2 separate regions of the Homo sapiens genome follow, and region 1 is linked to region 2. The links are contacts of gene promoters, found by promoter capture Hi-C in blood cells and fetal thymus (Javierre and others, 2016). All regions are on one chromosome and are shown on one strand. Each heading gives the region's core, a stretch centred on a gene start or on the middle of the fragment in contact. The rest is flanking DNA. Distances are from core to core; before and after follow the strand shown. Region 1 overlaps ADAMDEC1 (ADAM like decysin 1). Region 2 holds the start of ADAM28 (ADAM metallopeptidase domain 28).

The links. Contacts are between HindIII fragments. The CHiCAGO score rates a contact against its expected background, and 5 or more counts as called.
Region 1: a fragment that was not itself captured here is called in contact with the fragment with the promoter of ADAM28 in region 2 in 1 of 17 cell types (total B cells); the score reaches 6.1 in total B cells.

Annotation. Positions count from the first base shown.
Region 1 is chr8:24,401,644-24,407,674 of GRCh38, reverse strand. ADAMDEC1 (ADAM like decysin 1) reads right to left here. Exons shown (of 14, transcript NM_014479.3): 12 at 5,583-5,760; 13 at 3,587-3,672; 14 at 1,662-2,383. The coding sequence ends at 2,377. The region is part of intron 1 of ADAM7-AS1 (ADAM7, ADAMDEC1 and ADAM28 antisense RNA 1); the gene reads left to right. Among named protein-coding and RNA genes, the nearest start is that of ADAMDEC1, 20 kb to the right of the region's middle. The HindIII fragment of the contact is 2,665 bases long and covers 1,625-4,289 here.
Region 2 is chr8:24,290,418-24,296,412 of GRCh38, reverse strand. It overlaps ADAM28 (ADAM metallopeptidase domain 28), which reads right to left and starts at 2,344. Exons shown (of 23, transcript NM_014265.6): 1 at 2,218-2,344. The coding sequence starts at 2,263. ADAM7-AS1 (ADAM7, ADAMDEC1 and ADAM28 antisense RNA 1) reads left to right here. Exons shown (of 6, transcript NR_125808.1): 5 at 163-259; 6 at 356-599. The HindIII fragment of the contact is 10,253 bases long and covers 1,657-5,995 here.

The DNA of each region.
Region 1 (6,031 bases), core at 1,708-4,207, 110 kb before region 2:
AGGACTATATATGAGTACACTGCACACTGCTCAGGTGATGGGTGTACCAGAATCTCAGAAATCATCACTAGATTACTTATCCAGGTAATCAAAAACTACCTGTACGCCCAAAACTATTGAAATAAAAATAAAAATTAATAATTAATAATTATTGATGAGAAAAAAGCTATCTCTTGGGGAAAAAAAGGATGTGTACATATAAGTACCTATGTTTATTCTAAATTTCGGTGATATAATGTGTAGCATGCAGTTTTTGAATAATAATTAAAAATACAATATTACTATAATTCCAAACAGGCAATTGATTTTAACAGAATGCTTCCGTTGGTTTCTGTTGAACTATTAAGCCTTAGCCAAACTATGCTGGCAAGCAATGAACGAGTATAGTTCCAACATTTTGGTTGATATTTTTGCTTACATCAATGAGTAAAATTGAAAGAATAAAGACATATATTAGAATTTCACTCATTCATTAAAAGTGTGAGTGACTATTGAGTTGGATGATAGTTTTCAAATAATGAAAAAATATCCTTTCAAAATTTTATGCTTTCACATTTTAATTGCTATAAACAAGACTTACTTTTAAGTTAAAACTCCATCACTTTCTTAAGTATAGACAATAAATAAAACAATAAATCAAACCTCGATTTGTAGCATTTGGCTATTCTGTGCTAAAGTCCTCCTGTCATATACCACTGCAACGTGATGTCACTGGCCAGACAGTAGGGAAGAGGTCTCAGTAGCACATGCTTATATAGTATTTACATCACATAACTATGTTAGAGTTAAATAACTATAGAGCATAGATGAGTCAAATGTAGTAGAATAGGGAGTGATATGTTTTGAGTATTTCCTTTGCTTTTGCTAGAATTTAATTATGAATTTATACACGTTGGGTTTCGGTAGTGGCCGTGTTTAGCAACCAGCTCACAATATTTCTTAAAGTTTAACAGTTGACATTCACAAGCCTGTACTAGAAGTCTCCAGCATGCCACTGATTTTAATCCCTGCAGCTCAGTGAGTTTTGCTATAAGAAGCCCCTACCTGAGCACAAGGTCAGGGGTTGGGGGTGGGGTGGAAAGGATGTCCTAAGAAGCCCTTTTTCCTTCGAAGAATTGGCTGGAAGTTCGTATCAAACCCGTGGGCAGTGGAGATCTTGGCAAGGCATATCCTGGGGCTGCAGCCGGGCTGATATGCACACCTGGCATACAGCTTCACAGGAAACACTGGCAGTGCCAGCCCATCGATGACATCAAGGCCATGAAGGGGGAGATGGCCAACACTGTCATGCAGGGCATCCCAGGAGGCCCTTGGTTTCAAAGCCCAATCTTTAAAAACATGTCTAAGTTTCTAGTCTCCCAGCATAGGCATCTGTGGAAATTTAGGTAACTTTCATTAATTGTTAAAAATTATTTCAAGAAAGAAGCCTCAGGAAGAAGCCTAGTCTTCCTGTGTGACTGGCCTCACATCATGCCATTTTGGGCATGAAAAGATGATACAACCTCCTCTTCTCATGTTCATATAGCATTGCTTGGCTATCTGTGACAATATTATCAAATTACCAGAGCGATGATTTTCCAATGATGTGAGCTTCAGCACCTAACACAAACCTACAAAAGAAGCTTGAAAATACTCAGTTTTGAAAATGACCACACAGAAAAGCCTCAAAAGTTGTGTTTTTATTGACATTATGGTTCAATAAATCATTAAGCCTTCTTTGCTGGCTCAATTAAAATGTAAGCAATGTAGACTTCTCAAAATAAACTTCATATATGATGATGAAGGAGATGTGTGTATAGGATATACATGATAAAATGAAAAATATTTACATTGAATCATTCTTGACATGATGTAGAAAAATACTGCACTTTCAAGAGCAAGGCGAAGTGAACACAGAGGAATAACATAAAACCTGAATTCTATTCTTCTTTCTATTGCCAAAGCCTTCACCCATCAAGTGGTATTATTTTTTTTATAGGCCATACTAGTAAGATGAAAGAAGCATTAAAGCATAGTACTTGTAATTTAACAATTCTGGAGTGTTAACTCTGAATAGTTTAGCCGTGCATTTTAAGGTGATTTGATGGAAGACTGCTTTCTTTTGTTCTCCAAAGGGCAGAACTAAGTCACAAATTCATGATCTTTAAAAAAAAAGAAAAAAGAAAAAAAAAAGTAAAAAGAAAGATTAGGCCTAAACAAAGAGCCAATGTCTCTAATTACATCTGTTTACCTGTTTCCTGGACTGATAACAATATAGAAAGTAGAATGACAAGTGAAAGACCATTATGGGTGAAAATTCACAAGATTCCTGGGACAGTTAGAGTTCTTGGTTCTTGTCCTGGCAAGGTAGCATCTCAGTGAAGCAGACTTTTGGATTCACTCTCTGATTGAAGGAAAAATAAAATTTGGAAGCCAGGGTTATTACAAGTTACAAAATATTATGTAATAATGATAATGAAAATGTATAGAATTTAAATTATGTGAATAACAATTCATATTATTTAAGAGACTATACCATTAGCTGTATTTCATGAGTGAAAAAAACTAATTTATCTGGACTTAAAGTCCCACAGCTAGTTTCTGACAGAAAAGACTAGAATTTTAGTTTCCTGAGTCCACCTCCAATTTTCTTCCATGGTATAAATTGCCTATCTTGCACAGTAAGGGGCATGTTCACCTAGGGTTCCAAGCCCTTAAATAGCTGGATGATTTTTTTTCTTTTGTGATGCTATGTTTCTGGCCTGGGCACAGTTTCCAGAATTCCCTGCAGAGTGGATTCATTCCATGATTCATGTAGGCTGTATTAAATGGTGTTTGGTAAATAAACAAGCGTTGGTCCTTATCTTTGACCTTGCCTATCCATTCCCTATGAAATGATAATTGATGGTGCTTGAGTCAATTATTTTCTTTATACTGTCTCTGCAGTTTCAATTCCAGAAAAGAATTGGGAAAGAGGAGTAAAGAAAATGTATCCTGAGTCTTTCCCCTATTTTTTATTTTTCTTGTTGCCATTTTATATTTAGAGGTTATTTTTCACTGAAACAAGTACCATTTTCCAAGTAACTGGGTTCCCTAGCCCAGCTCACATAGGATTGTATAAGACACAGAACTACTACCTGAATTATGGCTCATTGAGACACTTTAAAGGGAGTAAAATTGTCAAATCTTATAGCATGTTCTTAAATGCTATTGATTTTCTGACAGCCTTGCAAATTAAAACTATCAGCTTTTAACCAAGAATAAAATGAGCTCATCAACTGAGGCTGTTTTTAAATACACTTTTCTTTTCTCATTTTGGTTTGTATTAAACTCATCGTTCTCTAACGGGAATTTAAACAGTTTTTGGCATAGATTCCAGCAGCCCTAATCTCACAAATGTCAAAGTAGCTACTTTCTCATGAGTGTTTGTCTACAATCCTTAGTCATGCTCATAATGATTGCTAGTTTTCCTCTCCAAAATTGAGTCGTTTGAAAAATATAAAATACATTGTGTTTTAGTGTATTATGGAACCCAGTGGCATATTTTTCTCAAATCTGAAATAAACGTGAGAAAACGTTTTGGAACAAAGAAAACAAAAGGTCTTACGTGGTATGGTTTGGAGCATCTCCTCCGCAATCAGTTCCAGGCTTCAGTTTACACGTTAGGGCTTCACAGCAGAGATTGGTACACTCCTTCAAAGCACACACACAATGGAAAAAGGTGGGTTCAACATTTTCTTCCCATAGACTAGGTGATAGAATTCTGGCACAAGATGGCAATGAAAGTTTACTTTTTAAGGTAAATTACTCTGATAGGCAAATTCCAGTGAAAATGACCAAGGACATTGAAAAATAGAAAACAAAATATTATCAGCAATGAAGACTTCTCAAAAGGTGAGAAATAGAATTATTCAAGAATTTTTCAAAAATAAATTTTGTCTAGATGTATGATGTGTAAGTCCAAACTAAAAAAAATTGAACATACAGCAGAAAGAAAAATATGAAAATAATTTAGAAAGCCTTTCAAAAGTGCAGGAACTCCATGAAGAACTTTATATATACATTTCCTGAGAAACTTTAAAGGCAACTTGTCTTTTAAGACAATACTTAATATTGTAAAAATATCAGTGCCCTTCAAAGTTAAATATAAATTTAATGCATTTCCATCAAATCTCAATGGTATTTGAGGGCAAATTTGCAGCTAAAACAGTAACGACAAAACAATGAAGAGACTTGACATTAAAACGCATTGTCAAGTTACAATCTTTAAAATAGTGTGATGCCTGGGAGAAATATCTAGACAGAAAGCTTATTTTTAAAATCTAAAAAAAAAACCCTAACTATATACCTAGGAATAATAAACTGGGATATCAGATCTATGAGAAATTGGATTACTCAATAAACAATACTGTATGAAGTATACATACTACTTTTTGGAAAAGAAAACAGTTATTTAGAAATTCAGTTGTTCCTAAGCCTGAACTCTCTGGTTTTATTCAATTACATAAGAAAAAAATCAACAAGATATGAAAATAATACAAGAGTTGACTGACATAATTCAAGAATTTTAGATGTTACATATTGTGTATACAATGGTCCTCTCTTGGCCTCTTCCTTCATCCTTTCCCCCTTTCTTCTCTGTAAATACATACCATTTACTTGCTGAAACCAGAAGTACCTAGGGTTTTGAGTATCTTCAATTGTCTTCCACCCAAGAAACCATAGATGAATGTAAGCAAGTAAGAACGAGATAAACGTAACTCTAATTTGCTATAAAATGTCAAATCTTTTGTAAAATTCCATGCCTCTTTATAATTAACAGAAAGTTTACAATATTCTTCACAAATGACTAAGTTAGGCTGTGTAGTCTTCTGATCTAATCTAACCAGCTAAAATTTCTGAATACATAAACTGAAGCATAGAGAGTTTAGACGCCATGTTCATTGTCACAGAGCCATCTTAAGTAATGGATACTTCTTGGACTGCATCCTGCTTCACCAGTGGAGCAACAGAATATCTTTTAGAAGGCAATGGGATTGCTAGTGATCAGCATTCTTTAGAGTACATAAATGCCTTGAAGGAGTCTAATTTATATAAATTAGCAGAATCATAGTGCTTATTCTGGATGTTCTATGTTAATAGCCTATTTTCTACAGATTTTTGTGATTATTTTTTCTTTTCCTCTTTCTTCTCTGTTTACAACCTGGTTTATACACTGGCTTGATGAGAAAAGACCAACTCTCCCTCTGAGTAGAACTTACTTCTAGATCTCTAATTGTTACTGTTCAACAGATGATCAACTGTGACATTATGTCGTCTAGGGATTTCTGACTAATACACGTTTTGGAAAGATTGCAAGTGACATGTTATAGTTAACAATTTACTTTTTTACATTTAACTTCATATAATTATGTCAAAATCAAGTCCTAGTTTTTGAAATGCCTTTCAAAGGATTACTAAATTCAGTAGCAAAAACACAAGCACAAATCTCCTTTTTAACTACGATGCCAAGTTTGTCTTTAGAAAGAATTTCCAAAAGAATATTGGAAAACAAAAAGAAAACTGCATAATTCTTCTGCCCCAATAATTCTAATAAATAATACCTTAGGAGAGCCACAATCACAGTCTTCTCCCACTTCTAGAAGGTGGTTCCCACACACTGGTGTTGTCATTATATTTGTAGGAATAGGTGCTTGCAGCAGGCACTTTGGTTTCTGAGATAAAAGGTATCTTTCAAAATGTGCACGGCAAGATGTACTGAAATCCTTTGGGAATTTTGAACTGTAATCAGAAGAAAACTCAAATAATATGATATACAGTGTGGTGCCTTCTGCGTGAAACACAGAATAAAGATAAAGAAACACGAGACTCTGATTTATCTAACTGTATTACCGAGCTCAATGGAAATTCCAAATTTGGCAACCATTTAGGACTGCCCTGTATTAAATGTGGTGGGTGGTAGAGCATGCATACTATGGTATTTGGACATTTTTCTTCCTAGAGCCTAAGTCACAGAGCTGGAAGGATTTCAATTTCCATGTGGCCATTTAAT
Region 2 (5,995 bases), core at 1,095-3,594:
GGATATTGACTTATGTCCTGGGATTCTCTGCATCTCCTCAAACCATCTTGTGGTTTTAAACTTCATGCATTAAAAGTGAGTACAAACAAAAGGGAAAAAACTGCATTTCTATTAGGTCTGTTATTTTGACTATTTAGATTAAACTGTATATTTTCTTTTCAGTCTTCCAGTTACCTTATAAAGGCAAGGAAGAACTGGTAGTTTGAAATAAAATAATTTCAAAAAGTGCTGTACCCCCTGAGTATTCTGCTGTAATAAGGTAAGCACCTTTCTCCTTTGTTGATGCAATCATTTACATCTTCACCCCGCAAACACCTGTCACATCCTTTTAAATATTTGTTTTTCCTTTTCCTAGGATGAAATCCCATAAGTCAATTTTTTCTCGGGATTGTGAAGTTCACTGCACACAACCAGCCTTATTTTACATCTCTTTCTTTTATTTCAACCATCTGGGGACTGGGCAGAAGTCATGGTCAGAGGGGCACATATGTATTGCTTTGATGATGGGGGCAGAGAACAAACAGGAAGAACTGGGAAATGAAAATTGCTTTACTTCTTATATTCTGACTAGAAAGGCAACCCAAATGGGAATCATAACAGGGATAGTTCAGTGGCAAAAAGACACCCTTAAAAATAGAAGCTAGAAGTTAAAGGAGGGGTGACATCACACTTTTAGAGTTGACATCAGAGGAAGTTGCATCTCTTGGTGCCATGTTATACATGCACCGTCGGGGCAGCAGAACTGATTAGTGTGCCCAGTTGCACAAAAGGACTGTAATGTGCATGGGCCCCAGTGTTAGCCATGTGACTCTGTTAATGGATCCAGCTTGATCTTTACGCTCTTCAACTAAGCTAGTGCCCAAGCAGTTCTTGTATTTCAGCTTAGAGGGGGTTCTGGAAAAGCTCTTGGTGATAGCATTTTTGGAGAACGGAGAGAAAAAAACATTTCTATTAAGTCTGCCTCAAAAAGTAGGAATTTCAGGTCAATGTTAAATGCCTGGCATGAGTTTTATATATATTTTTAATATTTCAGGCTTATTTTACCAAAAGAAAGCTGGTGTAACACGTTCACATCAGACAAAATAGGTATCAAAGCAAAAGGCATTAGAGATGAAGAGGATCACAGCACAGTGGGAAAAGGTTCAGTTCAGATATAGGTACATATTATATAAAGCAAAAATACACAGAAACAAAAGGAAAATAATTCGATATTTAAAGATATTAGGTTAAGTGAAATTTTTATAAGTCTTGAAAACAAATCAGAAACAGGTGAGACACAGGAAAATCATTTTTAGCAACAAAGTACTAAGAGGGTGCATGGACAAGGAAAACTTTTCCCTCCCTAAGCCCATACCTCTAGTTGATAATCTGTTCCCATCCCCAGGTCCCAGCAAACATTCTAAGACCCAAGAACAGGTTTACTGGGAGGAATTCGAGGCACTGCAGTTCATGTGCTGAGTTAAATAAGCTCTGGAAATAGAAGCTGAAGAATCACAATACCCAATCTAATTTAACCAAAGTCTAATTAGAGAATTTACCAGAAATTGAGAGACTTGCTAGACATAATTTCCTGTTAGGAAGTAGTATTTTTCTCCTTTCAAATTTTTAAATGTTTGGTATAATCAGCAAAATAGAAGTAAATTATCAATTTAAGCTTAACAGAGATATTTTGTTAAGTAATATCACAGTACCTTATAAATAAAAAATATTAATTATTTCCAGTTAGTCACACGTATTATTACTAATAATGAGTAAATACAAAAATATACACTCAAACAGAAAGAGCCAAACTGGCTCCCATAATAATAGTAGGTATTTTCCTAAGCCTTGTACACAGTAATAAATAAATAAATCTGCCACATCTTTACCATTCTTTAAATGACAAGCTGGGTTTTGATGAATTCCACTTTTTCAGTCAAAAATCATATTCATGATTTAAATTGTGCTGTATGAAATTGTCCCTTTTATTTCTGTATATTCTCAGATGAGATGCATACATATTGGTTCAAGACCTCTTGTTGCCTCTTTTTAACATTGTCTTTGTATCACTCGCAGCCCCCAAACAACAGGTTAAAACCAGCCCAACTGGTTAGTAAGATTGATTGAGAAAAAAGAAAAAGAAAAAAGTCAAAATAGTTTATACAATAAAACTATTAGGAGACTATGAAAAGTTCGCTAATGCATTCAATAGAACCTGAAAAAGAGCTAAATATGTACCTGCAACAGAGAGGAGGAGACTGACTGGCAGGAGACCTTGCAACATGCTGGGTGATTCCAGGAGCACGGTGTCTGCTCTTCTCGCTCAGGTGGGTGCTGCTGGGTCTGTCCCTGCCTCCTCTCCAGTGAGACAGAATGAAACTCCCTGGTTCATTCTTGTCTCTGATTCAGGAAGTGTTTACTAAAGGTGTTGCGCAACCTCGAAGCTGTGGTCCTGCAACAATGGCCCAGCAGGCGGAAGTCCTGGCTGCCTCCTGGCTCTAAGATTACTTGATCTGAACTATTGTTTTGCTCTCCTTTGCCATACTCCCCACTCCAAAGTAGTACATTTCCAACATATTACTATAGCCAGATAAGCTACAAGGAAAGAGGCAACTGCATTAATGAGTCTTGAAAAACATGCTAGACATTTATTTACATTACGGATATGATATATAAATATATGTTTAAATATATTTTTATATATATACAGTTGTAGGAAAAAAGTTATTAAGAATGTTATTTTTCCCCCACATACATAATGTGGTTATGTAAAGCAATTTCTAATTCAACCTAATTACTATATAGCATTCTCTTTTCCATTATTTTATGTTCTATTCCTCACACAAGTGTACTCTCAGGAAGTTTGAACTATCCTGAAATAAGAATGTCTGACAATATAAGCACAATAATTTTTAGATCCTTGGGGGTATTTGTGTCATAACTGGCAATGAGGAGTGTGGAAGAAGGATTCAAGACCCAAAGGATACAATTTTAGGATCTGTCACTGGTGGTAGTAAGGCTAAACTGGGCATGTCTAAAAATCATACTTATAACCAATAAAATAACTAATATCAACTGAGCTGCTTATTAAGTTTTAGGTACTGATAGGGTTTGGTTGTGTCCCTACCTGAATCTCATCTTGAATTGTAGCTCCCATAATCCCCATGTGTTGTGGGAGGGACCCAGTGGGAGATAATTGAATCAAGGGGCGGGCTTTTCCCATGCTGTTCTCATTATAGTGAATAAGTCTCATAAGATCTAATGATTTTATAAAGGGCAGTTCCCCTGCTCAGGCTCTCTTTGCCTGCCTCCATGTAAGATGTGTCTTTGCTCCTCCTTCACCTTCTACCATGAGAGTGAGGCCTCCCCAGCCATGTGAAACTGTGAGGCCATGAAACCTCTTTTTAATTTACCCAGTCTCAGATATTTCTTCGTGATAGTATGAAAATGGACTAATACAGGTACTCTCCTAAATCTACTGTACTTGTTATTTTATTAGTCTTTATGATACTCATGTATTATGCATTTACAATCATTTTGCAGGTGAAAATTTGGGGTTTTAAAGGCAAAATTCAAAAGATTAAGAATCAGTTGTCCCCTCATTGTATAGATTAAGAAGATTAAGCAGATAAAGTCACCTATCCAGTAAGTGGTAGAAGTGGAATCTGAACTATGTGTTGTCTGGGCTCTTAGTCATATACTCTAATGCTTTCCCTTGGCTTAGCTGACTTGTACTCCCAGTATCATTTCTATTGAAAAGATTCTGGGAGAATAGAAATAATTATGAAATTCCTAAGGAATAGAAATTACGCTGAGGACCAGTTATTACCACAAAACCTAGTCCTAGTCCACTAAAATCATGCATCATTTTACAGATTCTGAAACACATTCTCATACTAGAGGGATTACAGTGATTATTGATGTCTCCAAATGATTATACAGTCATCAACTAAAACCACAAAGGAATTTTTGAGTCTAGTTACTGAGCATTTTAACCATCAGGATTGCGATTCACAGATTTCTTGCCTTTTCAACCCAAGTTCCATTGCTTTGTCTTTTCCAGGGAACAGAAAGGATACTTCAACTTTTAATTATTACATATTTTTTCTCCATTAATTCAACGTAATTTTACTTACAGCTATTATGTGTCAGACACTGAGATTGCAGTTGAAAAAACACAATCATGGCCGGGAGTGGTGGCTCATGTCTGTAATCCCAGCACTTTGGGAGGCTGAGGCAGACAGACTACCTGAGATCAGAATTTGAGACCAGCCTGCCCAACATGGTGAAACCCCATCTCTACTAAAAAAAAAAAATTAGCTGGGTGTGGTGGTGGTCACCTGTAATCCCAGTTACTCAGGAGGCTGAGGTAGGAGAACTGCTTGATTGCTTGAACCCAGGAGGCAGAGGCTGCAGCGAGCTGAGATTGCAACAACACACTCCAGCCTGGGCAACAGAGCGAGACAGTGTCTCAAACAAACAAACAAACAAAAAACACAATCACTTTCATTGAGATGTTCACAATCTGACAAAGATAAGTTCAATTACCATAAAATTGCACAGAGTGAGTACCACCTATAAATGATCACAATATCACAAGGTGTTTAGTGTTACAATAGATTTATCAATAGAAGTCAGAGGTCTACACCAAACAGGGCAGGGAGTGCATCCTGGTGGCAGGAGTCCTGGGAAAAGGACTCCCTATTTCATAAATGGTGCTGGGATAGCTGGCTAGCCATATGCAGAAGAATAAAACTGGACCCCTACCTTACACCATATACAAAAATTAACTCAAGATGGATTAAAGATTTAAATGTAAGACCTCAAATTATGGAAAACCTAGAAAATGACATTCTGGACATTGGCCCTAGGAAACAATTTATAACTTAAGTCCTCAAAAGCAATTGCAATGAAAACAAAAATGGATGAGTGGGACCTAATTAAATTAAAGAGCTTCTGTAGAGCAAAAAGAAACTATCAGCAGAGCAAACCAACAACCTACATAACGGGTGAAAATATGAGCAAACTACACAGCTGACAAAAGTCTAATATCCAGAATCTATAAAGAACTTAAACAATTGAACAAGCATGAGATAAGTAACCTCATTTAAAAATGGGCAAAAGGGTGGGTGCAGTGGCTCATGCCTGTAATCCTAGCACTCTGGGAGGCCAAGGTGGGCAGATCACCTGAAGTCAAGAGTTCGAGACTAGTCTAGCCAACATAGTGAAACCCCATCTCTATTAAAAATACAAAAATTAGCCACGTGTGGTAGGCACCTGTAGTCCCAGCTACTTGGGAGGCTGAGGCAGGAGAATCACTTGAACCCGGAGGAGGAGGTTGCAGTGAACCAAGACTGCGCCACTGCACTCCAGCCTGGGTGACAGAGCAAGACTCCGTCTCAAAAAAAAAGAAAAAAAAAAAAAAAAAGGGTCAAAAGAAATGAACAGACACTTCTCAAAAGAAGAAATACAAGCAGTTAAAAAAACATGTGAAAAAATTGCCCAACATAACTAATTATCAGAGAAATGCAAATCAAAACAATGAGGTACCAACTCACACCAGCCAAAATGGCTATTACTAAAAAGTCAAAAAATAACAAATGCTGGTGAGGCCACAGAGAAAAGGAAACACACAATGTTGGTAGGAATGTAAATTAGTTCAGCCACTCTGGAAAGCAGTTTGGAGATTTCTCAAAGAAATTAAAACAGAACTGTCATTTGACCGAACAATCCGTTTACTGGATATATAGCCAAAAGAAAATAAATTATTCTACCGAGAAGACACATGCTTATGTTCATCACAGTACTATCCACAAGAGCAATGACATGGAATCAAGCTAGGTGCCCATCAGTGGTGGAATGGATAAATACAATGTGGTACATATATACCTTGGAATACTATGCAGCTATAAAAAAGAATTAAATTGTGTTCTTTGCAGCACATGGATCACCTAGAGGCCATTAACCTAAGTGAATTAATGCAGAAACAGAAAACCGGTACCTTACACCATATACA